Linked DNA regions of Homo sapiens: all the other regions are linked to region 1. Evidence: promoter capture Hi-C in 16 types of primary human blood cells and fetal thymus (Javierre and others, 2016). All regions are on one chromosome and are shown on one strand. Each heading gives the region's core, a stretch centred on a gene start or on the middle of the fragment in contact. The rest is flanking DNA. Distances are from core to core; before and after follow the strand shown.

Evidence for each region. Contacts are between HindIII fragments. The CHiCAGO score rates a contact against its expected background, and 5 or more counts as called.
Region 2: the fragment with the promoter of KRT86 here is called in contact with the fragment with the promoter of KRT73 in region 1 in 2 of 17 cell types (neutrophils and M2 macrophages); the score reaches 7.3 in neutrophils.
Region 3: the fragment with the promoter of KRT83 here is called in contact with the fragment with the promoter of KRT73 in region 1 in 6 of 17 cell types (total B cells, M2 macrophages, neutrophils and 3 more); the score reaches 8.6 in total B cells.

What each region holds. Positions count from the first base shown.
Region 1 is chr12:52,616,821-52,620,245 of GRCh38, forward strand. It overlaps KRT73 (keratin 73), which reads right to left and starts at 1,739. Exons shown (of 9, transcript NM_175068.3): 1 at 1,258-1,739. The coding sequence starts at 1,704. The HindIII fragment of the contact is 4,368 bases long and covers 436-3,425 here.
Region 2 is chr12:52,272,813-52,276,237 of GRCh38, forward strand. KRT86 (keratin 86) reads left to right here and starts at 1,833. Exons shown (of 11, transcript NM_001320198.2): 1 at 1,833-1,910; 2 at 3,009-3,134. It overlaps KRT86-AS2 (KRT86 antisense RNA 2), which reads right to left. Exons shown (of 2, transcript NR_199073.1): 2 at 1-2,265. The HindIII fragment of the contact is 3,258 bases long and covers 1-2,349 here.
Region 3 is chr12:52,319,612-52,323,036 of GRCh38, forward strand. It overlaps KRT83 (keratin 83), which reads right to left and starts at 1,787. Exons shown (of 9, transcript NM_002282.3): 1 at 1,341-1,787. The coding sequence starts at 1,724. The HindIII fragment of the contact is 9,694 bases long and covers 1-1,984 here.

The DNA.
Region 1 (3,425 bases), core at 489-2,988:
GGGCTCTCCCAGCCCAGCCAGAGGCAGATGTTCAGCTTATCTGGGGTCTCCGGCCCTCCTAAGTTGCTTTCATGTCTGAATCTCTACTATCTCAATCACAGCATTGTCCCAGCAGCAGAACAAGCATTCTCAAGTTGCAACCTACAAATATATCATTCCCTTGCTTAAAACCCTCAGGTGGTTCCACATCACCCTCAGGGTCAAGTCCATATTCCTTATCACACTCTTCATAATGTGCCCAGCCCTCCTGGCTTCCTTCTTTACTCATACAGTGATGTCGTAAACCGAAGGTCTCCCATTCCCCAGACAAGTTCTACCATGCTGCACGTGCTGTCTCCCTAGATTGCCTTTTCCCCACCTCCATCTGAAAACTCCTACTCATGCCTCACCACCCTACCTCACTGTCGCTCCGGGTGAGCTTCCCCTGCTCCTCTAAGCTTAGGAAGTCTCTGCTTCCCAATACCTTCCTACCACTTTGTTCCTCAGTGATTCTCAAACCTGAGTGTACATCAGCATCACCTGGAGAGCTTGTTAAAATGCAGGGTGCTGGGCCCTGCTGCAGAGTCTCTGATTCAGTTGCTCTGGGGTGGAGCCTGAGAGTGTGCATTCTAACAAGCGTCCAGGTGACGTTGCTGCTGCTGGTTCCAGGGCCACCTTTGAGAACCACTGCTCTAGGGCACCGTGACCTCCAGCTGCCTTGCCTCATAGGCTGTGTGTGTTACGGACTGAGTCTGAGCTTTCAGGGGACACAGGAGGAACAGCTGGGTCGCATGGCAGTCTAGATGCCCCAGGCTGTCAAGGGCATCTCCTTCGCCTAGCTTCTAAGTCTCACAGGCTGTCACTCTGCTACTTCTCAACTCAGAGACCGCTCTCATTGCTTCCTGGACACCTTCCTGGGCTAGGCTGCTGGCTCCTCTCACCCCTCCAACCCTGGTCCCTTGCCTCTGATGTCCAGGCTTTGTCCAGTTCCTCCCTGGGCTATGTCTGCATCCTGGGGAGGTGTCCTGCCTTCGTCTGCTTCAGACAGGGAGCACCCCAAGGACAATGAAGGCGGGGGAAGGAAGGGGCTCTACGGCATGAGCAAGCCTTATGGGCCCAGCACCTGGGGAGCTTTCAAGTTGTTTACCTGGTGTCTGATTTTGCTGGGAGAAAATGATTTCTTGCTCTCAGGCAAATTGAACCACAAATTAGGGCAGTGGCTCCCTCCTGAGTCCTTAAAAGGGGAGCCCAAGATCAGCTTTCTCCAGAAAGACCCACCTTGTCAATGAAGGAGGCGAACTTGTTGTTCAGCACCTTGATCTGCTCCCGCTCCTGGGCACGCACTTTCTGGATTTCAGGGTCCAGCTCCACGTTCAGGGGTGCCAGGAGGCTCTTGTTGATGGTGACCTGATGGATACCCCCGGGCGGGCACAACGACGGACACACGGACCCCAAGGCCACACTGCCAAACATGCTGCCAGCAAAGCCACTGGCCCGGCCCCGGCCAAATCCATAGCCTCCTGCCCACCCACTGCCACTGGCCACATTGAAAGAGATGCTCCGGGCACCCCCCAGGCTGTAAAGGCTCCGACTGCTGAAGCCTCCACTGAGCCCTTTGCCCCCTGCTCGGTAGGAGGATGAGCTGCCCCCTGAGAGCACAGCGGAGCAGCCGCTGAAGCCCCCCTTGGCAGCAGCTCCCGACTTGTAGGTGAATTGGCGGCTCATGGTGGGGAGGCCAGAAAGTGGGGATAAGATGCTGACCCTTAGCTGAGATGCAGTTCACCAGCCTGTGATCCTGGGCTCCCACTTTATAGGACTCAAGAGGGAGCCATGGGCCTAATTTGTGGGTTCAGTTTGCCTGGAAGCAAGAAATCATTTTCTCCCAGCAAAATCAGACACCAGGTAAATGACTTGAAAACTCCCAAAGTGCTAGTCTTGCAAGTCTTGCTCATGTAATTTGAGTTTTATCTAATGAACATGTGTAATTAGCATGGGCACATTATCCATAGAAAGATCTTAGGTGGGAGGTTTGTCGCAGTCTCAATTGCTGTTCCCCAGGGAGTGGTGGGGCCTGGGATTGTAGGGGTACAGAGGGGAGACCTTTAATTGACAGTGTCATCTGTTAGAAATCTCACAACCATGCCAGCATCAGATGGGCTGCTTCAGGGACCCTGGCTGAGCTGCTTTTATGTGGTTAAGAAGAGGCTGCTGCTGCCTGGCTTCCCAGAGTTCCTGGAGACAGGTTTGATGGCTGGCCAGGGCCATAGGAGAGGAGCACACTGGGAATCCAGGACCAGCCTCTGGCTGCCAGCCCCCTGCTGTGCCCTCCCAGGCAGCTCTCCTGCTCCTCTGTGCCAGCCGGGCTGCCCTGCTCACCTTCCTTTGCACACACTGACTTCTTTTTCCCTTTACCATCCCACTACCCTGACTCTTGACCTTGAAATTATGGTCATTGCACCATTCACGATGGCTGACACTGGTGCAGCACTTTACAGTGTAACAGAGCTCCTCACACAAGAAGCTCATTTAATCCACTTAGTCTGCATGGAGGGGAATGGTGATGATCCACATTACACAAATGGGGAAACCAAGGTTCAGATAATTGAGGATGTCATTCCTTTAGCAAACATTTAGTGAGTCCTTTCTTTGTGTGAATCCCAGAGAATGAAAATGCCCCCAAAAAGCACAGGCCCCAGCCTTGAGGACTCCCTTGGCTGGTCTTCTGACTCCACATTCAGAGCTATGCCCGCCTTATTCATTCGTCCATCTATCCGTCCAACCAGCCAGCCAGCCATCTACTTGTTCATTCATTTATCCATTCGTTTAACAGACTTCTCTTGAGGGCTGACTCTCTCCCAGGTACTGTGCTAGGCTCTTGGGTCCCGAATTATGAAGACCAAACCTAGCTCACAATTTTGGAGATGGGGAGGTAGGGGAAGACATTTGAATTTCATGGATCCTTGACATTGCCAAAGTATGTGACCCAAGAGTTTCCCAAATCCCAAATCCCAAATATATCCATAGTATAGAATTTCCTCCATAAAAACACAAGTATTTCACTAGCTGGAGTACTTGAATGAACAGTTGGCCCATCCTTCTTTTCTATTTCTGTATAGAGGTTATGATATGCCTCTAAAATTGTTGTACTAAGCAATTGCCAAATTCAACCTCCCCTCTGTTTTATACAATATGGTTGTTTTCTAGTTAAGAATAATCATTTTCTTTGATGTCTTCAATTTCACTAAAGGCAATGCCACTTGGAAGTCCTTTAATCTTTTTTAGCTAACATGAAGTTCTATTCCTTTTTTTCTTTTTTTTTTTTTTTTTTTTTGAGATGGCGTTTCACTCTTCTTGCCCAGGCTGGAGTGCAATAGCATGATCTCGGCTCATCGCAACCTCCACTTCCTGGGTTCAAGGGATTCTCCTGCCTCAGCCTCCTGAGTAGC
Region 2 (3,425 bases), core at 583-3,082, 340 kb before region 1:
AGTGTGAATTGTTATAACAACTTTGGAAAATAATTTTATATTATCTTATAAAGTTAACACCTTTATAAGATTCTGACCATCCTATGAGTCAGAAGTTCTGTTTGTAGTTGTATACAAATCCTCACATATGTGCATCGGAGGACATGTAGAAAAATGTTCATGGCACCACCTTTGTAAGAGAAAGAAACAAAACAAAACAGTAATAGAATTACCTAAAGTGTGGTATAGTTACACAATGGAATACTATAAGAATGGAATATTAATATTATAATGGAGGAATACTAGCAACATAATGTTGAATAAAACAAGACCCTGTGTGACACACTTTTTATAAAAAAAGAACAAAAAAACTGAAACAAATATATATTGAGGCATATGCATGTATTTGATAAAGCTAAGAAAAAACAAAGGAATTATATCAACTTTAGGGAAGTGGTTACCTCTGGGGTGGTTAGGAGAGGACAGGGTAGGGAAGGAGCATGGAGCTAAATGTAAATTACTAGTAAGATTTTAGTTTTGGGATCAGTAAGTAGGTTCATGAGTATTTCATTTTCATTATATTATAATAATAAAGTAATATGCTAGTTATAAGAAATAAACTTAAAACATGAGGACATAAGTTGAAAGTAAAAGAATGTGTTAAGGTGATTGGTTAGATCAGATTGCCTTACACATAGTAGAAGTAAATGATTTTTCCATGAAACTTATTTCAGTAGATGTGGTGTATTTGTACGTAGGTAGTGATTCATGATACAACATATATTTCTTATTTAGAGTTGAGGTTAAAAAACAGTTTGACAACTAGTACCCCAAAGAACCTCTTGTTGAGGTCCACCAGCAGATATGTACAAGAAAGTTCATGGCAGCATTGTTTGTTACAACAAAAACAAAAAACACATGTGCTACCTATAGGAAAATAGAGATATATGTATATGTGTGTGTCTATATCTGTATCTATCTATATATATGTAGTCATACTTTGGAATACTATACAACACTGAGAAATAAAACTACATGCATCAAAAAGATGAATCTCAAAACTAGTATGTTGAGGAGGAAAAAGCAAGTCATAGAAATGTACAAGGTGTAATTCTATTTATATAAAACTTAAAGGTAGGCAAAACTCAACACTAGTTTATGGATACACGTTATGACATAGTAATAAAGAAAAGCAAGGGAATGACCAATATAAAAACTCAGGACAGTGGTTACTTTGGGGATCAGATGGGGTTGGAGATGGATCAGCAAAAATCCCGCAGGGGGCTTTGAAGGTACTGGTGGGTACACAAGGATTTGTTTTATTATTGTTGCTATTGAAATCAATAAATGTAGGTTTTGCATACTCTTTTGCATATATGAGAAATTTATAAAACAAAAAGAAAATGCTGACCACAGCTTGTGCTCTCTAGCCCCTACTCATTCCTACAGGTTAAAGTCATTGCCCTACCCAAGATTTCCTACCAAGTCTTGGGACTGGCATCCCCAGTCCCAATTTCTTGCCCTCCTGTCAATCTTCTGCACTGCTTCTAGACAATCACATCTCATGTCAGGCCACTGTCCTGCTCAGACACCCTCTGTGGCTCCCCAGTGCCCATCCATAAGCCTAAGCTCCTCAGCTCCACACATTTCCTCCACCTGAGGTAGCCTTCCCCTCCTCCACTTTCCTTTAAGTTCCACTTCAGCCCAGAAACTTCCATTTTCCCACCTGGGGTCAGAGTATGGCCCTCTTCTACCCTATGCCCCTGAGGCCTCCTGGGCAGAACTCTGTGATTGTAATGAGATGAGGTCACAGAGCCCCCAGGAAGAAGAGGCCCTAGTCCTCAGTGGCAAGGATTCTGGTAGCTCTTGGGCTGAAGCTGGGCTTTGGTGCTCAAGAGAGGCTTGGAGGAGACCACAGTTCTTTCTCCATGGTGAGACTCATACACGTGGCTCCCTGGTCACACAGGGATGAGGTGTCTTGGACTTCACCCAGATCTGTTGGGCATACAGCTTTTGGGAACAGGAGCAGAAAAGTTGGGGGCAGTGGGAACACAGCAGAAATTGAGATGATGTTTTGAGGTCTGTTCCCCCACACTCCATCTGCCCTAGAAGAAAGTTTGCAATGGGCTGGTGTGAACAGTTCTTGCTCTCTGGGTTGAGGGGGTGTGTATAACCTTGGTGGAGAGCAAAGAGCATGGGCTTAAAATGTAGTCTGGCTCAACTGTCGGCTGGCAGGGTCACTCACTCCCCTCTTGCACGTGGTGGATGGAATGAGCCCCAGTTTGCCTGAGGAAAGACAATGGGAAAAGTCACATCCATCTGGCCAACTTCATGGGTGGTTGTGAGGCCCCAGTGAGATCGTGGAGTAAAAGCTTGTGAAAAGCATCAGGCACTGTGCAAGTGTGAGTTATTGTTCCCTGGCTATTCGTGTATTGAATGCACATGGGGGCGAGGTGCAAGAAGGGAAGTGGTCCCCTGATTTCATAGACAGCACTTCCCATAGCAGCCTTGGGTTTGGGGAAGAAGCTGGAATCTAGATCACTGTCCCTGGTTTCTGATTAATGGCATTCAAATTAAGGACATTTCTTCCTAATCCTAGATTTTAAAATGTGTTTTTTAAATTAGGAAATATTGAATTTCATTAATTTTTTTTGTACTAATTTAAATGGTTAGATGTTGTAAACTACAATAATCAGTTTCCTAGAGTTTAACTCTCCCTGTTCCTGGGATAAACCCTATGTGATCTTGGTCCCAAAGCTCCCCTCAACAGATCACTGCCCTGTGTTGCTGCCCTTCCTGCCTGAGTTCAGGCTTCCTTTGGCATCTTCTGGCCCCATGGGCACAAGGCAAGCTCACTGTGTTCTTTCAACAACCTTTGGAGATAGGAAAAATGATCACTCCCATTTCACAGATGGAGAAAGGGATGCCCAGAGAAGCTAGGTGACCACTGGTGACAGCAGGTGGATGGGCAGCCCTGTCTGGCCTCCTCACCTCCTGACTACAGCTCCCCTCTGCCGTCTGCTCCACAGTGTGAGGAATTAAAGGCAACTGTGCAGAAACACACGCAGAGCCTGAAGCCCAGCAAGGAGGATCTGAACAGGCTTAATCAGGCCATCCAGTGGCTGACGGTGGAGGTGGGCAGTGCTGAGAGTCAGGTGAGAGGTGGGAGTGGGGGGCAACAGAGTGGCCATGGTGGGATGGTGACCATTATTTATGACAACTGCCCCTCCCCACCTACCCTTTGGATTAGATGGCTACACTTTCTCTTAGTGAATGTCTAAGCATACAGCAGTGCAGCTGCATGCATATATCATGCTTACCTCTGCCTAGGACATTGTGTATTTTATGTAAGTAATGAACATGTAGGTAAATCTGTATGAAGATATATGCTTGTTTGTACATTATTATCTTTTTACTTGTGTATGTTCATTTTTATGTCTGTGTTT
Region 3 (3,425 bases), core at 537-3,036, 300 kb before region 1:
TTCTGCTGCCACTTGTTAACATTGTGCCCTTGGATAAAGCACTCACCTCCTCTGTAGAGTGGCGAGGTTAAAGCTCACCTTACTATGAGGATTAAAAGAACCCTTTAACAGAAAGGCACCCCACACTGAACAGCTACTGCTGTTCAATCACACCAAGCCAGGTGGACCTTTTTAGAAAGGCAAACTGTAAAAGTTGAAAAATAAAGCATGTGCCAATTATTCAAACCCTACAACAACAATGCAATTAGAATAATAGTCACCTGCAATATGAGAGTAGGAATGTCCTGTGCTCCAACCCCCTTATTTTACTGATGAGGCCAAGGAGGTTCCCTGACTGCCTGAGAGCTCACAGTGGCAGAGAAGAGCTCAAACTCCGATCTTCTGCGCTGCAGGGGGTGTCTTCTCTCCCTTTGACAATTATAGGAACATCCCTCTCCCAGCGATGAGGTTGGCCCACTACTCCACTCAGCTTCTTTTGTCTAATAACTTGGCCACACCCTTGGTAGGTCCTATCTTATGCTATCCTTGGTCTCTCATGCTATTAGAAATTCCACATTTTTTTTTCCCGATCCTTTCTGGTGGGCATCTCTCTAGTGTGACTCCTCTCTTGAGGTTTTGGCTCTGGAGGGCTCTTTCCAACCCCAGAACATGTTCCTAGTCAGAGCCTTTTCTCCCAGTCTCTCACATCACTGCCACATGGTGGTTGCCTGGATTCAGTGGAGAAGGTGGCTGCAAACTCTAGTTGGACACTGACTACACAGATGGTTTCAACCAAACCCAGACTGTGCACTGCCTGCCTCCCCATAAAGCCTGTGAGGATGGGGACCATGACTCTTGCTCACCCCTGGATCCTGAGCCCCAGGAACAGTGGCTTGGACAAAATACTCTAGACCCTGCTCAGTGGCCAAATCACTGTGTGGTATAGAAAGAGTTCTGTGCCATCCACGAGACCCACTTCCAGACAGTTTTCCAGCACCACACTTATTAGCCCTGCCTTGATGGAGACAGCATCTCCTTGGCATTTAAGCAGTTATTTGGCTTCAAATGCCCTGAGCGCCCACACAGTGGTCCTTTGCTCACTAGGTGATATTATCACTCAGTGTGGAAGGCTCTGCCCCTCGTTCTGCTTTTGTGTTTTCAGTTAATCTCCCCCATCAGTCTGGTAGCTCCCGGTCCCATTTTTGTCTTTCTGTCTGTGTCCTAGAAGTATGACTACCTTTCCCTTTGGCCTGGGAACTTCTGTGGGCAAGTTCTTGCCTTTGACTTCCCTGTCAGTGCCCAGCCTGAGTTCTGAACATGAGTAGGGGTTCAGGAAGGGTGTGATCCAGGACGACACCCACCTTGTCGATGAAGGCCGCGAATCTGCTGTTGAGGGACTTGATCTGCTCCTTCTCCTCCTGCTTCACGCACTGCGCGTTGGGGTCTATCTCCAGGTTGAGGGGCGTGAGGAGGCTCTCGTTGACCGACACGGTGGTGATGCATGGGGGGCTGGGTCCGCACACGCCCCCGGAGCGGTAGCCGAAGCTGCGTCCGCAGGAGCCGGCGCGGAAGCCCCCGCACACGCTGTGGCTGCCAAAGCCCCCGGTGAGGCCGCGGTAGCAGGAGATGCCGCGGTAGGGGGCGGCGGTGATGCAGCAGCGGCTTGGCCGGGGCCCGCAGGCAGAGACACAGCTGAAGTTTCCAGGGCGGAACCCACAGCCTATGGAGTTGAAGCCACAGGTCATGACGGAGGTTAGGAGGTGTCTGAACAGTGGAGTAGATGGCAGAGGATGGAACCAAGGGCCTGTGCTCCCTGGCTGATGGCAGGCCCTTTTATGTGCCAGGGGCAGCTGGTGTTAAAAGAGGGAGCAAAGAGACAATAGCTGAATTTTATTGGCTTGGCATCACCCTGGCCTCTTAAGCTAGAACCCTGCTTGCCTCTTCAGTGTGGCTGCATCAACAATCCCTGGCCACGGGCCCTGTTTCATCTTCAAAGCCCTTTATAAGCTTCCTCCTTGCTCCTGCCCCTCCCACTGGCACTGCTGTGGAGCGGGGAGAGGGGTTCCTGAAAGCATTAGTTGCATTCTGCGGTCCAAGCGAGGGGAATGGGTGCAGTGACCTGGGGTAAAGCCTGCTCTCTGAACCCTGTTCTGAAAGGGGCAGAGCTAGGCTATGGGCCCTGGACCCATGGCCAAGCCCTGGGGTGGAGTGGCTGGCCTGTCCCAAGGAGGGGGCTGCCTCTGAGACAACCTCTTGCTGTAGGCTTTCCTGTCTTTTTCTCAAAGGCGGGTTCCTTTCCTCATTGTCAAGATTGGCCGCTCCTATCCTATTCCTGCTCAGAGCCTGGTCAAGGATGGGAGTGGGGGTAGAGATTTGGGGTGGGAGGAGGGCATGTTCTTTGCACTTTGGGTATTCCTAGTGCAGGGACACCATCTGGGACATGGAAGAAACTGATTCAGAGAGTTCAGGACAGTGCCAGGGCTATGCTTCAGAGTTCCAGGTGTCATTGCTGATGGGATCAGGAGCGGGGAGTGTGGAATACCTCAGAGCTCCAGGGACTCATGGAGGAGAGTGGGGACCTGGGCTTGAGGAGGATTGGGGTGGGGTAGTACAGGATTGAGAGATGACCAGAAAAGAGTCTGGCTCTGATTTGCAGACTAGACTATGTGTATTCATTTATTCATTTATTCATTTATTCATTTATTCAGGAAATACTTATTTGGTGCCCACCAACTATGCACTAGCCACTGTGCTAGGTTCTGGAAATCCTACAGAGACCTGGGGTGTTTGGAGGTAGCATGCATGTGGGGGAGCCAACATTTGGCTAGGGGGAAAGATGAGAAGCCACAGATGGGGGGAAGGCCCTCACAATGTCCAGGCTGATTGGTGTTCTTTAGGTTCCCAGCAGGGAAGCTCAGTGATGGGGTCTTGGGGTGTATGTACTCACCAGGAAGGAGGGAAGGTGCGGGAGGTGAGGGACATCAGCAGGGTCCTTAAATGAGATCACTCTCTCACCTCAGAGAACACACTGGGTGAGAGAAGGGTGCTAGCTCATGTGGCTGTTCCTAAAGCCAAGCTCTCTTACTTTGGGCCCTTGTTCCTTTGGGTTAGGACAGGCAATGGCTTTGATGGATGGACAGTCGGACCGAGCCAGGAGGTTTGCCTTAACCCGAGGACCTGAGCCCATCAACCCTTCCAAACACACATCTCTGGACTGCTTTCGTCAGGAGAGGATGAGGAGGACTCCACTGATGGACCTGTGTCCTGACCCAGCCACAACCCAACACTGACCCACTCTGGGCTAATAGTAACCCTCCTGTGACTCTCATCTTTTGCCCTTCCCACTCCCGCTCAGGATGAGTGGGCCAGTTATATCCCAGAGTGGGGATCTGGGGATGATGGAAGAGGGGCCCATCTTCTGTGGGCCTGAGGGAGGGCAGGCGATG